Regions from separate parts of the Homo sapiens genome. Here all the other regions are linked to region 2. Evidence: promoter capture Hi-C in 16 types of primary human blood cells and fetal thymus (Javierre and others, 2016). All regions are on one chromosome and are shown on one strand. Each heading gives the region's core, a stretch centred on a gene start or on the middle of the fragment in contact. The rest is flanking DNA. Distances are from core to core; before and after follow the strand shown.

Region 1 (2,700 bases), core at 128-2,627, 340 kb before region 2:
CTGCTTTCAATAATTCTGTTTATTATTAATTAGGATTAAAATGAATAAATGTGATGAACAAGAGCAAATCTCAGAAATGTCTGAAACTGAGAAGAAAAATGAAGGAAAAGAACTTAAGAATGGGAAAAAACTGGAGGTATTTATATTGCAAAATAACATTAAACTCAACTAGTTATAATATTTTATTTTTTGATAGAATGTGAAATCTTGGTATTTCTAAAAGTTATCCAACAAACTGACAAATACAAGAAATAAATGAATTTTAAGAATAAATGTCCTACACAGGGATGTACATGGCAAATCATATATTTATTTTTTGATTTCTAGAGCCTCTCATATCTAGCTTCAGACGAAACAGAAATTGAAAGAATAAAGCCAATTACCTTGAGGCCACAACTTTCTTTCACTGCAGAATTAACAAGCTTATCCAAGTGTTCCTTGTAAGCATGTTTAAATAATTATTTATTTATTATATATTGTCTATTAATTGGATTGTTTTTAATAATAAAGTGGGATTTCTTGGGTGAGTACCATATGCCAGGCACTCTAAGTTTTTAAAAACACATTTTCATATTTAATTGTCACCATAACTCTATAGAGTTCCATATTATCCTCATCTTAAAGAAGGAATGTAGCTCATGGGAAGTTAAATTGCCCAGGTTCACACATCTAATACATGCCTGAGGTGGGACATAAACCAGTTTGGTGTTCTATAGAAACTGTGATATCTTCACTGCTAGTCTTCATATATTGATAATTTGCAGGGTTTTTTTGTTTTGTTTTGCTATGTTAGTAATTTTCGTTCAGGTATAAATAGGTGAGATATAAAGGCACTGTAAAAAGTAATATACCATTGTCTTTGCTTGTTAAAGGAACTCTGGCTCTCATAAAAACTATTTCACATCAAGAGGGCCCCCTAAACAATTTTCTTCTTTGACATTACAAACTTCTTTACTTCACAGTTGTGATTTCTTCCTTGAGCTGTAATGTTTTCTCTCTATGCCTAGAACATTATGCAAAAACAGACATCATAGGTAACCCCATTTCTCCATCTACTAGGCCTATGGATCCCATCTCCCTTAAAGAGGATATGGCAACTTAGAGTACTAGGTCTAATTTTTCAACATCTCTATCCCATGGCACACTTGGTACCAGTCCATCATTGAGTATTGGGAATGTGCATCATTTAGCAGTGTTGGAAAATACTGGGTAATCAATAAATGTTTATATATATTAAATGAGTGAATGGATGCTTACATTAACAACCAAAAGGGCAGCAGACACAAAGTCACAATTATCACCACCCACTTTCTGACCAGAGAAGTGCAGCAGTGGAGAAATCCTTTATTTGTTCTGTACCTTCTTCCAAAAAGGGCCTGAGATACTTTATTATGTAGGACACCCATATAAAAAGACTATCTAAACAAGGGGAAGAATACAGGAGCCATAAAATGAAAGTTGGAGGGAGAGAGAAGAAAGAGGAGGAAGAAGATATTTGTGCTGGAAAACCTAGACTAAAACTTAGTGGAAGTCAAGGCAAAAGGATGTATGGTGTTTTATATCTTTGCAAAGCCATTGCCATCCGATAGCATTGCTGTCATCTATTTAACACACCCAGTAGAATAAAAACTCATTCTCCAGAAAAGAATAATATGTCGATATAGAGGATAGAAGTGAAAAGAATACAGAGATTAGAGAAAAATTAAAAAGAGTTTACAGGTGAAGAGAAAGGCAAGATTTCCTGAAGATAATTATAACCCTGAATAAACAAATTTTTAAAATCAATTCAACAAACTTTTAAAATCAAATTCAAATTTTTAAAATCAATACTTTTAGAGGGCAACAGAAAGGGTAACTTTTACTTAGATATTTCTTGAAAGGTAATTGGGAATATGGTCGAAAGAGGCCAACAGGGAGATAAGAATAGGTAATCTTTTGTCCCCTAACTCTTTGAGAAGGTTACAGAGATGGACAGATAATAAGGCAGGGACATACTGGGCCCATAGGGTGATTAGATTGGGGAGCAGAAGGGGATTTTATGTTTCAACTTAGGGTTTATCTTCCACCCAGCCTTCTCCCTTCTGAGAAAGAGGGTCAAGTCTTAAACATCATTAGATCAGTTCTCTTGCCACTAGGAAAATATTCAATAAACATTGGTTGAGTGAATTAAACAACGAATGAAAGACTCTAGGAGTTTTATATCAGTCAAGGGATCAACTTATGCCTCAACAAGTGTTTCCCCCAGGGAAGTAACCTGGCTTGCTCCTTTGATCTTTGGGTTCAGAGATAGGGTGGCCTCCCCACTGTCCTGGAGAAAAGGGGTACACAGCCTAAAGCTTAAGGTGATTTACAAAGACCTTTAAGAGGACACAGCAAGCCTGTTGCCTTAGAGCCACATCTTTGAAGTTATTGACAACATGGTGTGTGGAGGGTTGTGTGTTTGTGTATATAGTCTATGTGTGTGTCTTTTTAAAGTTAGGAAATATTTTTAAATTCTTGATTCAACCTCCCCTCCCCATTCCCAAGCCCCTCAGTTTTTTCCTCTCATAAGACATCTGGTAGATATGTGCTGTAATCTCTTTAAATTGTAATTTAGTAAAATAAGAGCTGAATGATTTATAGGACCTTGATTTTAGTTCTATTTTTGAATACATATTTTGAGTACATCTCTTTCATTAAAAACATTTGACTGGGAAGAAG
Region 2 (2,700 bases), core at 180-2,679:
GCTCACACCTGTAATCCCAGCACTCTGAGAGGCCGAGGTGGGCCGATCACCTGAGGTCAGGAGTTCAAGACCAGCCTGACCAACATGGTGAAACCCCATCTCTACTAAAAATACAAAAATTAGCCAGGCGTGGTGGCGTGCGCCTGTAATCCCAGCTATTCAGGAGGCTGAGGTAGCAGGATCGCTTGAACCCAGGAGGTGGAGGTTGCAGTGAGCTGAGATTGTGTCACTGCACTCTAGCCTGGGCAATAAGAGCGAAACTCCATCTCCAAAAAAAAAAAAAAGGACAAAGGGTGAGCAGAGCTCAGATTGGTTATTGGAGAAGACAATACAGAGGAAGGCTCCTTGGTGGTTAAGAGTAGTCTTTTAAAATCAGACAGATCTGAGTCCAAATCCTAGCTCAATCATTTCTCAGTTGTGAAAATTCAGTAGCTCTGTGACCTTGGGCAAATTGTTTAGCCAAATGAGAAAGGTAGGACCACCTGACAGTGGTATTGTGAGGATCCTGTCAGCTAAGGCTGGTAGGTGCTTGCCTTGGCCGTGTAGTAGCTGCTCAGGAAATGAGATCTATAGAGTGTATTGGTGAAAGACAAATTTAATTTTGCACATAAAGTTATGAAAATGTCTCCTTATGGCAGTGGTTATCATCTAAAAGTCATACCATCCCACTGAAGAAGACCTATTTTAGGGTTTATAACAGACTACTCTCTGGACAACCTTAATCCACTTAAAAAACTAATATATGCATACAGCATTTGGAATCCAAAGAACTGAATTCAAGATATGGCTTGGCCCCTTATTCTGTGATCTTGAATAACTGAGCCTTGGTTCTCTTGCTTATAAAATGTACCTATGTAAGTGAACAGGTGGTAATACCCACCATGAAATACTATGGAGCAGTTAGAAGCAACAGAGCAATTAGAATACGGATCTGGAAAACATAGTTCCAAGTGAAATAAAAAGGTGATTGGCAAAATGAGAAATGTAACAATGCCATTTATGTAAAGTCAAAACAACCACAAGCAGAATATAACACCCATGCAAATAACAGACATCCAGTACAGTGTAATGATTGTCTACAAAAGGAGGAGAATGCAAGTGAGTTGGGAGGTTTAAAGGGGATCAATAAATAAAGACCACAGAAGGGCCTCAGTACATTTAGAAATAAATAACATGCAAACAATGATGCTTCCCTACCTTCCTCACGAGGTTACTCTGAGGAGCTAATGAGATTGTGCGTATGAAAACAAAAGTTAATTGACTGTCTTCATTATGATCTCCATATTGGACAAATGAACTGAACAGAGATAAAAATTCCCCATCACACTTTGGCAGGAAGCTGTTGCCAGGGCAGCACCTGTGAAGCCCTGGCCTGGCTTCAGAGTCTGCTGGTGAGATGACATCAAAACCCTTCGTGTAGGAGGGTGGCAGTCTCCCTCCCTTCTGGAGACACCACCAGATGGGCCAGCCAGAGGCAGCAGCAGCCTCTTCCCATGGATCCACCACGAGCGTCCCACTTGAGCCCTCGGAAGAAGAGACCCCGGCAGACGGGTGCCTTGATGGCCTCCTCTCCTCAAGACATCAAATTTCAAGATTTGGTCGTCTTCATTTTGGAGAAGAAAATGGGAACCACCCGCAGAGCGTTCCTCATGGAGCTGGCCCGCAGGAAAGGGTTCAGGGTTGAAAATGAGCTCAGGTAGGACAGCATCGATCTTGCTTTGTAAATAAGCAGAGGCTTTGTGAACAGCTTCTTGGGAACCCAAGGAACCTGTGTTTTCTTCCACATGTGGAAGAGGTGATCTTCCCACTGGGAGAACAGCAGATTTGAAATCAAAGAACAACTAGTTAAGGAAAACGAGATAAGTGGGGACTGAATACAATTATATTGAAACTAGTTGACACCAAAAGATGAGATAAATTTTTTGTTTTTTGCTTTTCACTCCTATGAGATGTGTTATTTAGGGATGATAAGCAGAACACTAATTGGAAAATTTAATGCTGAACCACTCAATTCTATTCTTGACCAATTTGAACAAAGTATCACTGGGTTCAACAAAAAAGTTTTGGCTACTTTGATGCAGAAAGATGATTTGGTTGCTTGGTTCTTACCTATACATCTGGGCGTGCTAAGGCAGCTAGCATCTGTGGTGGGCGAGGATGACTAGCCAGCTTACCACAGGCACCCAGATGTGGCCTTGACCACATTTTTCCAAAGAGTGGTCCTAGTGGGGTTCTTAGAAAGAGAGATGCTAGGTAAAGATGTATTCACTGTTAAGACAGCTCTGTCCAGGGATGACAGACATCACACTGAGTGAGATGTAATCAGAGCCCAGGCAAGGAGGCGATAGAAGCATTTGGACCACCTAGATTGGTTCACTCACTAATCCACTCACCTTGAACAGCAATTATTCTTGTTGTTTTTCTAACTTCTGTGTAAGCTCTTCACTGATCTCAAATAGATGAAGAGAAAACAAGCAAAATCCAGAAACAAATGGTATTAGAACCTTGACATAAGTGATGGTTCTGGATTAAACTGTTAAGGGGCTTGCAATGAAGGAGTAATGATTTATGCAGTTGACCGCTTTGACTGTGCAAGAAATAAATTGACCACAAATTTTCAGGCAAAACTATAAAAATTTTATGTGAAAGGACATTTTGATTGTATAAATAGTCTTTGATATTTGAAAATAAAACTGACAA
Region 3 (2,788 bases), core at 27-2,526, 310 kb before region 2:
ATTCCCCTCTGTCTGTGTTCAATACATGTGCCCTGCTTGCTTACATTTATGCCTACCACAGCTCATGAATTCTTCCTATGAAAAACAAATGCTTTGCTTACTGGCTACTAATCTATAGTTAACATCTCTTAAAGGTTTTGCCAGTGTCTTACAAATTACAGCCTTGTTCTTCTAAAAGAATTAAGTATGCTCAAAACAAATGCATATTTCAAAGGCTGTTTTGTGAAATAAAGACATATAAAATCACCACCATTTTCTATAAGCATCATGCTGCTAAAAAAAAAAAAAGAATATTGTAACACCAAAAAAGTAGGAGGGATATATTCTTAAAGTATAACTTGTCATATATATATAGAAAGAGTGTGTATATATATAGAGTATATATATATAGAGAGAGAGAATATATATAGAGTGTATATATAAAGAGTGTATATATATATATATATAGAGAGAGAGAGAGAGAGAGTGTATATATATATATATAGAGAGAGAGAATGTGTGTGTGTGTGTGTGTGTGTGTGTGTGTGTGTGTGTGTGTATGTATGTGTATATATATATATATATATATATATATATATATATATATATATATAGTACAGTCCAGCCCTACGGGGCTTAGCAGGGATTCTCCCTGTGTGCAGAGACGAGAGATAGTAAGAAATAAAGACACAAGACAAAGAGATAAAGAGAAAACCGCTGGGCCCAGGGGACCACTACCACCAAGATGCAGAGACCGGTGGTGGCCTCAAATGGCTGGGCGCACTGATATTCATTGCATACAAGAAAGGGGGCAGGGTAAGGAGGGTGAGTCGTCCAAGTGATTATAAGGTCAAGCAAGTCACCTGATCATGGGACAGGGGGCCCTTCCCTTTTAGGTAGCCAAAGCAGACAGGGAAGGCAGCATACATCAGTGTTTTCTTCTATGCACTTGTAAGAAAGATCAAAGACTTTAAGACTTTCACTATTTCTTCTACCGCTATCTTCTAAGAACTTCAAAGAGGAACCAGGAGTACGGGAGGAACATGAAAGTGGACAAGGAGCGTGACCATTGAAGCACAGTGCCACAGGGAGGGGTTTAGGCCTCCGGATGACTGCAGGCAGGCCTGGATAATATCCAGCCTTCCACAAGAAGCTGGTAGAGCAGAGTGTTCCCTGACTCCTCCAAGGAAAGGAGACTCCTTTCACAGTCTGCTAAGTAACGAGTGCCTTCCCAGACACTGGCGTTACCGCTTGACCAAGGAGCCCTCAAGCGGCCCTTATGCGGGTGTGACAGAGGGCTCACCTCTTCCTTTCTAGGTCACTTCTCACAATGTCCCTTCAGCATCTGACCCTATACCCGCCGGTCATTCCTTGGTTATATTAGTAATACAAAAAGAGTAATATTAAAAGCTAATGATTAATAATGTTTATACTAATGACTGATAATGTCCATGATCATCTCTATATCTAATCTGTATTATAACTATTCTTATTTTAACTATTTTCCTTATTACACTGCAACAGTTTGTGCCTTCAGTCTCTTGCCTCGGCACCTGGGTAATCCTCCACCCACAATATATATTTTAATTGACATCCATCGTGAATAACTTGCCTTTTCTTCCCCTTTTTCTGAATACCTGTGAATATTTTATCATAGACGAGATCTAATCCATAGTTCAATATTTAGGAGTTGCGCTTCCAGAGTAGTAATTATCAAATGTTTAGCTGTAACCACACATGATAAGACAATTCAAGGCAAACTCAGTAAGAACCAGAGAAACTGACTTATATATCTTCATAAGCACAGGAAAAACCCACCCACTCCTACCAAAACTAATATTAAAACTAATTAAGGTGTATGTCTCTCTATTGTTTTTCCTGAAGATCCTTGGATATGCCTACTTGTTTGAAATCATCTATATCTTGCCTCAGACATAGAGAAACAATCAAATCAGTAGCCTCAGATGAGACCTTACATGAGGTAAGTATTTAACACTTCTATAAAGTATAATATTGATTATGTTTGTTCTGAATTACAATTGACTCTTAATTCATCTCTCCATCTATATTTTCTTTGGCTTCCAGTTTATTTTCCATGACACAGTAAAGGTGGCCTTTATAAAATGTAATTCTAACTATTTCATTCCCTGCTCTCAGGGTCTATATGATAAGGTGTAAGCTCCTTAAAATGGCTACAAAATCTTCAGGCATCTGGCCCATGCCTACAATCAGCCTCATCTCTTTCTATCCCATAGGCATATCATGCTACTCCTTGTTCTATGAGGCCTCTACTAGTTGTTTCCTTTGCCTGGAATGGCCTCGACGCATATCCATGTTATTGTCCAAAGGAACTACGACTTAAAGTTTCAAAGCACACGCTCAAGCAATGTTTTCTCCATGATGCTCTCCTTATTGTCACCCCCAAAAGTTAATCATTCCTTTTCCTGAATAATTTTCATACCTTAAAGATGTTTCTCTTATTTCTCACATTTCATTGCACTTGTTTGTTTACCTGTATATTTTCCCCTGATAGACTTTAAAATCCTTAAGAGAAAGTTCTGTTTATCTTTAGATCCTAGAAAAGTACCTGATATAGAATAGACCCAGTAGATGTTTATTCAATAAATAAATAAATAATGGTCATTTGAAAAACTAGAAAACTTAAGCCATACATTTGCCAAGTAATTTCCTAGGCCTCTACCTTTATCGACTATATATAGTATTTCAAAATCTAGTCAATGTTTATTATGTGTTTCAGGATACTGTACATCCATTCGTGGAAGTTTCTTTCCAGCACACTGTATACAAA
Region 4 (2,700 bases), core at 56-2,555, 270 kb before region 2:
TTCAGCCATAGAAAGGATGAGATCCTGTCATTTGCATCAACATGGATGGAACTGGAGGTCATTATGTTAAGTGAAATTAGATAGGCACAGAAAGACAAACATCACATGTTCTCACTTATTTGTGGGATCTAAAAAGCAAAACAATCAAACTCATGGAGATAGAGAGTAGAAGCTTACCAGAGGCTGGGAAGGGGAGTGGGAGTTCAGAGGGAGGTGGGGAATGGGTAATGGATACAAAAAATAGAATGAATAAGACCTAGTATTTGATAGCACAACAGGGTAACTATAGTCAATCATAATTTAATTGTACATTTAAAAATAACTAAAAGTGTATAATTGAATTGTTTATAACACAAAGGATAAATGCTTGGGGGGATGAATAGCCCATTTTCCATTATGTGACTACTATGCATTGCATCATTGCATGCCCATATCAAAATATCTTTTCATGTACCATATATATATATATATATATATATATATATATATATATATATATGTATATATATATATATATATGTATATCTATATATGTACTATGTGCCCACAAAAATTAAAAATTTTTAAAAATGCATTTACTTATAAACCAAGAAACTTCAAATGTGTTGAAGAATTATTACTAGGACCATGTTGCATGGCATTAACTTGGAACCAGTTATATGTTTTATGATGTATAAATTACAGGTTTTGCAAAGAGATGTCCAAAAGGAAACCACTCTGCAACTAAAAAACTAAGAAAAACCTCTAGTAGTAGATCAATTCCCTGTTATTTGTTCTGGGCAAGAGGACTCCAGGCAAGCTTCAATATCTTCTACATGCAAATTACAGTGGTCCCTTGGTATCATTAGATTTATCTCAGGACCCCCACAAATACCACAGTCCAGAGATGCTCAAGTCCCTTATATAAAATACCATAGTCTTTGCATATAATCTATGTACAACCTCACACAATAGTTAGGTATTATAAGTAATAATTATAAATAGTTACATTATATTGTTTTCTATTTGTATTATTTTTTATTGTTGTTTTGTTTTTTTTTTTGCGACGAGGTCTCACTTTGTCACCCAGGCTGGAGTATAGTGGTGTGATCATAGTTCACTGTAGCCTCAAACTCCTGTGCTCAAGCAATCCTCCTGCTTCAGCCTTCTGAGTAGCTGGGGCTACAGGTACTTGCCACCATGCCTGGCTAATTTTTAAAATATTTTTGTAAAGATGGGGTTTCACTATATTGCCCAGACTGGTCTTGAACTGCTGGGCTCAAATGATCCTCCAGCCTTAGCCTCCCAAAGTGCTGGGATTACAGAATGAGCCACTGTGCCCAGCCTGCTATTTTTTATTTTTTTCTGGATATTTTCAATTTGTGGTTGGTTGAATCCTCAAATGCGAAACCCATGGATATGAAGGACCAACCGTACTTCCAAATTTATACATTCAGCCAGGCCACTGACATCTTTTTGGATGGTAAAAAGACATCTCAAACTCAGCAAGTCCATAAACAAACATGGTGGGCATCTAGTATATTGTTAGGGTGCTCCTTTCCTTCTCCTACTCTACCCCAAGCTCTGGGCATCCTTTCACCTCTTCTTCCCTATAAACTGGCCCAGTGGGTTTTTGAAAACCTCAGCCTCCCAAGAGTGAGACTCCTTCCCCTTACCATGCAATAGACTAGAGGGTGTCTGCTAGGGAACTCTCTGAGATGAAGTAAGGAATCTATTGGGAGTTGAGTACTTAGGTGGGGAGGGAGGGATCTACAGGCACTATTCACTCATGAATAGGGAGGAAGTTGTTTTTGCTTTGCTTTGCTTTATTTTAAAGCTTATAAACAATAGAAATTTATTTCTCATGGTTCTGGAAGCTGGGAATTCCAAGATCAAAGTGCTGGCAGAAAAGGGGTTCTTGTATATATAATACACCTTCTTGCTGTTTCCTCATATGGTAAAAGAAGTAAGGTAGGTTTTGCTTTGTTTTTAGTAGAATTAGGAGATAAACAGATAATAAAGCATAGTTAAATATAAGCCAAGGTTTAAAATGTGGAGTACCTATGTAAAATAATCAATTTAGTAATACATAGTCTACAATAAAACTGGACTAAACCCTGCAGCCCATGCTCAAATCCTAGTTTAACTACTCAGTAGCTTTGACCTAGGGCAAGTGACCGAATCTCTCTATACCCTCTACTCCATTAGAAAACAGGAATTTTTTTAAAAAAGTTATCATTTTATCATTGTCTTGAGGATTATGTGAGTTAATAATTACCATGGCACCCAACACCTAGTAAGTATTTAGTAAATGCTATCTATTTTTTTTCTTCTATGTGCCAGGCATTATGCTGGACACTGGAGTTATAGTAGTACACAGGACAGATACAGTCTTGTACATCTGCAGAGATTATGGGTTAGTTAGAGAGAGACCAGAAAACAGGTAATTGCAACATATTTTATTAAGTAAGCTCAAGGAAGGACAGTGTGCTACACAACTACATGGGAAGAGCGTGTGAACAGATTTAAGGATCAGGAAAATCCTCCTGAGCTAAGCAATTACAGTGTGAAAGAATGGTTGTCATCTATGTATTATTAAACAGGTAATTTTCCATGGGACCATGTTCCACAATCCTTTAATCCCATCACATAGTAGTCACTTAATAAACATAAACTGAATCGATGTTGAATAAATTGTTCTGAAATTCTCACTTAAATCCC

The links. The method cuts DNA at HindIII sites, captures the fragments that hold promoters and counts their contacts. A CHiCAGO score of 5 or more calls a contact.
Region 1: a fragment that was not itself captured here is called in contact with the fragment with the promoter of DNTT in region 2 in 1 of 17 cell types (neutrophils); the score reaches 5.4 in neutrophils.
Region 3: a contact is called between a fragment that was not itself captured here and the fragment with the promoter of DNTT in region 2, in 1 of 17 cell types (endothelial precursors). The highest score is 5.9, in endothelial precursors.
Region 4: a fragment that was not itself captured here is called in contact with the fragment with the promoter of DNTT in region 2 in 9 of 17 cell types (naive CD4 T cells, endothelial precursors, M2 macrophages and 6 more); the score reaches 8.8 in naive CD4 T cells.

The regions. Positions count from the first base shown.
Region 1 is chr10:95,965,863-95,968,562 of GRCh38, forward strand. It overlaps CC2D2B (coiled-coil and C2 domain containing 2B), which reads left to right. Exons shown (of 35, transcript NM_001349008.3): 13 at 34-136; 14 at 328-440. The region is part of intron 2 of ENTPD1-AS1 (ENTPD1 antisense RNA 1); the gene reads right to left. Among named protein-coding and RNA genes, the nearest start is that of CC2D2B, 59 kb to the left of the region's middle. The HindIII fragment of the contact is 1,914 bases long and covers 421-2,334 here.
Region 2 is chr10:96,303,005-96,305,704 of GRCh38, forward strand. It overlaps DNTT (DNA nucleotidylexotransferase), which reads left to right and starts at 1,430. Exons shown (of 11, transcript NM_004088.4): 1 at 1,430-1,696. The coding sequence starts at 1,494. The HindIII fragment of the contact is 4,232 bases long and covers 1-2,700 here.
Region 3 is chr10:95,993,406-95,996,193 of GRCh38, forward strand. CC2D2B (coiled-coil and C2 domain containing 2B) reads left to right here. Exons shown (of 35, transcript NM_001349008.3): 23 at 1,864-1,960; 24 at 2,738-2,788. All of the region lies in intron 2 of ENTPD1-AS1 (ENTPD1 antisense RNA 1), which reads right to left. Among named protein-coding and RNA genes, the nearest start is that of CCNJ, 49 kb to the right of the region's middle. The HindIII fragment of the contact is 3,350 bases long and covers 1-2,788 here.
Region 4 is chr10:96,028,787-96,031,486 of GRCh38, forward strand. The region is part of intron 34 of CC2D2B (coiled-coil and C2 domain containing 2B); the gene reads left to right. The region is part of intron 2 of ENTPD1-AS1 (ENTPD1 antisense RNA 1); the gene reads right to left. Among named protein-coding and RNA genes, the nearest start is that of CCNJ, 13 kb to the right of the region's middle. The HindIII fragment of the contact is 1,017 bases long and covers 798-1,814 here.